2 separate regions of the Homo sapiens genome follow, and region 1 is linked to region 2. Evidence: promoter capture Hi-C in 16 types of primary human blood cells and fetal thymus (Javierre and others, 2016). All regions are on one chromosome and are shown on one strand. The core of a region is centred on a gene start or on the middle of the fragment in contact, and the rest is flanking DNA. Distances in the headings are between cores, read along the strand shown. Region 1 has its middle 150 kb from the start of OR4E1. Region 2 holds the start of OXA1L (OXA1L mitochondrial inner membrane insertase).

Region 1 (3,006 bases), core at 71-2,570, 940 kb before region 2:
TCCTCAGTCCCTGATCATCCTGGAGGGAAAGAACTGCACTCTTCAATGCAATTATACAGTGAGCCCCTTCAGCAACTTAAGGTGGTATAAGCAAGATACGGGGAGAGGTCCTGTTTCCCTGACAATCATGACTTTCAGTGAGAACACAAAGTCGAACGGAAGATATACAGCAACTCTGGATGCAGACACAAAGCAAAGCTCTCTGCACATCACAGCCTCCCAGCTCAGCGATTCAGCCTCCTACATCTGTGTGGTGAGCGCACTGTGCTCCACAGGCACTTGAAGCCAGTATGCAAACCTGCACCTGGAGGTTATCAAGGAGGCATAGGAGTTAGAGTAGACCGTTATTTTTTATGCAGAATATGATTTCACTAGTGAATATTTATCTCTCCGACATGATTTGATTTGAGCTTGAGCCTAAAGTTCTACTTAGGCTCAAGTAGAATACATGTCCTCAAGCGAGGATAAAGACATTCTCACTCAACACACAAAGTTAATTGCTACATCTGGGTGTTCCCAAGGGCAAGACAGTCTGTCATGCTGTGTTACTATTGCTGAAGTAGATGACAGTGTTGTTTGGAAGGGAGAGACTAGCTTGGTTTTTGATCTGGACACCTACCAGCAGAATGTCAACTAAGTGAAAGAGCAACAAGTTTATGTGGCTGATGGAAATTTTTTTTTTTTTTTTTTTTTTTTTTTGAGATGGAGTCTCACTCAGTCGCCCAGGCTGGAGTGCAGTGGCGTGATTTCGGCTCACTGCAAGCTCCACCTCCCGGGTTCATGCCATTCTCCTGCTTCAGCCTCCTGAGTAGCTGGGACTACAGGCGCCCACCACCACGCCCGGCTAATTTTTTTGTATTTTTAGTAGAGATGGGGTTTCACCGTGTTAGCCAGGATGGTCTCGATCTCCTGACCTCGTGATCCACCCATCTTGGCCTCCCAAAGTGCTGGGATTACAGGCGTGAGCCACTGCTCCTGGCCGGAAATATCTTGAGAAGTTTCCTTCCCCTGAAAGACATTCAGTTGTCATTTCATGGCTATTCAAGTTCTCAGAAAGCATCCTGTGAGAATAAATCTGCTCTTCCCATTTAGCTATGCTCCAGATCAAGGCTTTTGTCCAGGTGCTGCATCAACTCTTTATTATCTTCCATCACTGCTCCTTTAGAGGACACTGGAAGGCCAGGGGATCCTGGCAGACACAGTCACTCTCAGGCAGCAGAACAACTGTGCCAGGCTTTTCAACCATCAGTGTTCTAGAAAAGAGACTTAGGGACAGAATGCCTACCTGCAATTGTGAACTCTGGTTTTCACAACTTAGCTGTGAAGTTCTTTTTGGGACAATTAGAGAAATGTACATATAATTTGAGAATTAGATGAGAAAAGTACTTATTTAAAAGGCAGATATCAACTGTAAAAAAATGGGAAGAATATATACTAAGATATTAAAAATGGTAATCCTTGTATTGTGGGAATATAATGTTTTTACTTTTTATCTTTCCTTGTCTTCTGTACTTTTAATTTTCTATAGTTCTCGGATTTTTCTTCTGTCAAAATAAAGATTATTAAAAAATAACAAATGTCTTAAAAAATTTAAAGGAATGCATCTCATCTGTCACTATCAACTCACAGGAATTGATATTTAAAGATGATCACACATTTCAGGATATTGTTGAATAAGATTGATTTGTTATGCTTATGAGCACTGCAAGTAAGTTCATTTCCAAGTTCAGTGAATTGATAATTTGTGAATAAATGAAGCCAGGACCTGGACTGTTCTTTGTAACTAGTCTGGAGATAGCTCAAGTGTCAAGACATCAAAATGCCTTGACTTCTGGAGCAAAAAGTAAACCTAGATATATTCAGTAATCAGATATTTTTTCCTGTCCTGTATCTCCTTTCAAGTCTTTAGAGTGAAGAAATTAAAGTTCAGATTGCTGCTACAGCAGACTTGTGTGAGTAATCATAAACTAATTGAGGAAAAAGATAAAATACATGAAAATGGAATCAATAGGTAAAATTCCAAGTACGTGGACAAATAAGTTTTAAAGGTATTCTCAGGAGGAGATTACTGTGGGACAGAAAAGATAGGAGAAAGTATCATGGGGAATAGCAAATTTAGTTAGGTCTTGAAGGAGAGACACACATTGAATTTGTTCATTACACAATTATTTATTAAACAAATAATGAGGCCAGGTGCCGTGGCTCATGCTTGTAATCCCAGCACTTTGGGAGGCCAAGGTGGGCGAATCACTTGAAGTCAGGCATTCGAGACCAGCCTGGCCAACATGAAGAAACCCTGTCTCTACTAAAAATACAAAAATTAGCCAGGCATGGTGGCATGCACCTGTAATCCCAGCTACTAGGGAGGCTGAGGCAGGAGAATATCTTGAACCCAGGAGGCGGAGGTTGCAGTGAGCTGTGATTGCACATCTGCACTCCAGCCTGGGCGATGGAATGAGAGTCTGTCTCAAACAAAACAAAACGAAATAAAAAACAAATAATAAGTGACAGGTGTTTTTGTAGGTAGAAGGAGTAGGGTAATAAACAAAATAGATAAATGCAGACACAAAAGACCTTCCATTACGAGGCTTGAGTCTATGTTTGTCTATTGCGTTCACTTTCTTTTACAGGAATATCTTGGGAAGTTTGCATTCCAATATAGGCATTTCCTTGCTTGCTTTAGTTTAGTTTAGTTTGCAGGTTTCATATGGTGAGTAAAAGGCACAGGCATTGAAATGCTCTATCTATCACTTACTAAATTGCATTACTCTGGACAAAATTACATAACTTCAGAGCACCTACGCGCCATCAATGGTAATTACACGTACATCACATGGTCATAAGGATTGAATTAAGTTAAGTGAATTTAATTAAATGATTGAATTGCATTGGTAGAAAATAATTTTTCAACTAATGGTAGTTATTCTTGGACATAAATGATAAAACAAAGGTAATTTAAAATAAGACAATAAGAAACTTTAAGTATAGATTAAGGTTTGCCTTTCC
Region 2 (2,807 bases), core at 15-2,514:
GCGATTCTCCTGCCTCAGCCTCCCTAGTAGCTGGGACTACAGGTATGCACCACCACGCCCGCCTAGTTATTTTGTTTTTTTGTTTTTTGTATTTTTAGTAGAGACAGGATTTCACCATGTTGGCCAGGCTGGTCTCGATCTCTTGACCTAGTTATCGAGACCACCTCAGCCTCCCAAAGTGATGAGATTACAGGTATGAGCCACTGCACCCGGCCAAGACCTTTAATTAACTTACACAACAAAGTCTGGAGATAGGCAGTTCCAAGCATGGTACAGCAGCTCAATGATATCATCAAGTATTTGGGTGTTTTCTATCTTTGCCCTCAACCATCTTCAGCACGTGAGTTTTTCTTTCCTTTTTTTTTTTTTTTTTGAGACGGAGTCTCGCTCTTGTTGCCCAGGCTGGAGTGCAGTGGCACAATCCCGGCTCACTGCAACCTCTGCATCCCGGGTTCAAGTGATTCTCCTGCCTCAGCCTCCCGAGTAGCTGGGATTACAGGCGCCCACCACCACGCCCGGCTAATTTTTGTATTTTTAGTAGAAATGGGGTTTCACCATGTTGGCCAGGATGGTCTCGACCTCCTGATCTCGTGATCCACCCACCTCGGCCTCCCAAAGTACTGGGATTACAGACCTGAGCCACCGCGCCCGGCCTGCACGTGAGCTTTTCATCTGGAAACTTGTCCCCTCATGGTCAGTCCTCACACCACCCCACTTACAGAAGAAAAAAATGGAAAGGTGAAGTCTCCTCTGGAAGCTTCGTCTTTTTATCTGGGAGGAAAATATTTCCCAGAAGCTGCCTTCTTTTAATTTCTGTCAGACTCTAGACTACCCTCAAATTTCACTGGACCTGCGATTACAATATTACCTAGCAATAAGAATCAAAAGAATCGAACATCATTGAGTGGGAAAAATCCTCTGCAAGTACAGCCAAGCCTTTTCTGAGGCTATTTTTAAACTTACAAATCAGAGGACAATCGCGACATTAGAGGAAAATTACCCAGGTTTACGCCATCACTAACGATGATAGCTTACGATGATAGCTAACCCAGCTCTTCAACTTCCTTTCAATCTCCAGAAAAGGCTCTCTGCGTGCTAATGGTAACGTGGCTTTACAGATTTTTACCCACTTCAAATATGGCCGCCAAGCTCCGTTCTCTTTTACCGCCTGATCTGCGGCTACAATTCTGGCTTCATGCCCGCCTCCAAAAGTGCTTCCTCTCGAGGGGTTGTGGTTCTTACTGCGCAGGCGCAAAAGCAAGTCCTCTTCCGGGCAAAATGGCGATGGGACTAATGTGCGGACGCCGGGAGCTTCTGCGCTTGCTACAGTCCGGGCGTCGGGTAAGGATGCCCCGGGGCAGAGCACCGGGATGCTGCCCTGACCCAGTGAACCAGGCCCCAGGACAGCTCGTGCTAGGGGTATCAGCAGACGCTGACCTGCTCACCGGGACCTGAATGTCATGACCTCGGGTCATGTGAGGACGCGCTAGGGTTAGTCCCCGACACTATGGGCCCAGCAGCCCGGTGTCAGCTTCTGGAATTGGCTTGGCTCCTGGCGAGAGCACCTCGGCCTCGTTCTCAGGGCCCTCCGATGTGGGTCTGCGATAACTGAGATGCGGGGAACCCAGGTTCGAGCTTCGCTCTGCAGGCACCACCCGCTGCATGCCTTCGGGCTAGCGGTCTGCGCGCGGTGATAGCAATGTCCTCCCCTGTAGTGGCCGAGCTGCCTGCTTCTTGGGGAGTTAGCATAATGAATCCCGTTTGCACCCACGCGAGGACTTCTGCTCCCGGTAAAGGGGCTCCATCATCCTTTTACACGCTCAGGTCCACAGCGTCGCAGGGCCCTCGCAATGGCTTGGGAAACCGCTGACCACACGGCTCCTATTCCCAGCAGCCCCGTGCTGCTGTCGCCCACACTACCTCTTCCTTGCGGCTTCCGGCCCCCGCAGCCTCAGTACCTCTGCTATCTCTTTTGCAGAAGTCCAGGTAAGAGGCCTTTCGTTCCTGCAATATTAGGAGTGGTGTTTCCTGGTTGGTTTCATATTTTGTTTTGTTTGGGAGCAGGGGGAATATGGAGCAGAGTTCTTGTCCACGCTCCACACAGCTCTCCAAAATGATAGCATCTCTGCTTAGGATGGATTTTCAATTCAGTGGGGAAATGATTGAAAGTACAACAGGAGAGATGTTATATTTGGTTTTCTGAGCTGTTTTAAAGAAAAGCAATTGTTTCATGTTAATATATGGCAAAAATCATGATAGTGATATTCAAATGGCTGAAGTTTGGAAAACAGTGATAAAAGAAATAACTTCCCAGCATGAAGGGAAGTCATGGATTCTTACTCAAAGTAACTTCTCTTCCTAACTATTGATAAAAATGAGATGTCCTTTTTAAGCTTGAAATCTGCAGACACTAGGCTAACCTGGAAGAACAAGAAGTAGAGAGAACAGAACCCAGTACTGGTTATTATAAAAAGATCTCACTTGCTTTGTGTTCGCTACTGAATAAATATAATACAAGGCTTTCTTTCACACAGGTTCAGGCCCCTCCTGTTGTTGCTGCAACTCCCTCACCCACAGCAGTACCTGAGGTGGCTTCTGGAGAGACTGCAGATGTAGTCCAAACTGCTGCAGAGCAGAGCTTCGCTGAACTGGGGCTGGGGTCATACACCCCAGTGGGACTGATCCAGAATTTACTGGAATTTATGCATGTTGATCTGGGCCTACCTTGGTGGGGGGCCATTGCTGCATGTAAGGGGAATATACCCTGGACATGGGTTAGGGATTTAACCTCATAGATGGCAATTCTT

Evidence for each region. Contacts are between HindIII fragments. The CHiCAGO score rates a contact against its expected background, and 5 or more counts as called.
Region 1: a fragment that was not itself captured here is called in contact with the fragment with the promoter of OXA1L in region 2 in 1 of 17 cell types (total CD8 T cells); the score reaches 5.2 in total CD8 T cells.

Annotation. Positions count from the first base shown.
Region 1 is chr14:21,825,816-21,828,821 of GRCh38, forward strand. It overlaps TRA and TRAV10. Among named protein-coding and RNA genes, the nearest start is that of OR4E1, 150 kb to the left of the region's middle. The HindIII fragment of the contact is 3,707 bases long and covers 1-3,006 here.
Region 2 is chr14:22,765,424-22,768,230 of GRCh38, forward strand. It overlaps OXA1L (OXA1L mitochondrial inner membrane insertase), which reads left to right and starts at 1,265. Exons shown (of 10, transcript NM_005015.5): 1 at 1,265-1,341; 2 at 1,825-1,986; 3 at 2,535-2,748. The coding sequence starts at 1,279. OXA1L-DT (OXA1L divergent transcript) reads right to left here and starts at 1,139. Exons shown (of 3, transcript XR_001750638.3): 1 at 1,001-1,139. RefSeq lists enhancers at 1-423, 424-986, 987-1,550, 1,144-1,373. The HindIII fragment of the contact is 1,636 bases long and covers 756-2,391 here.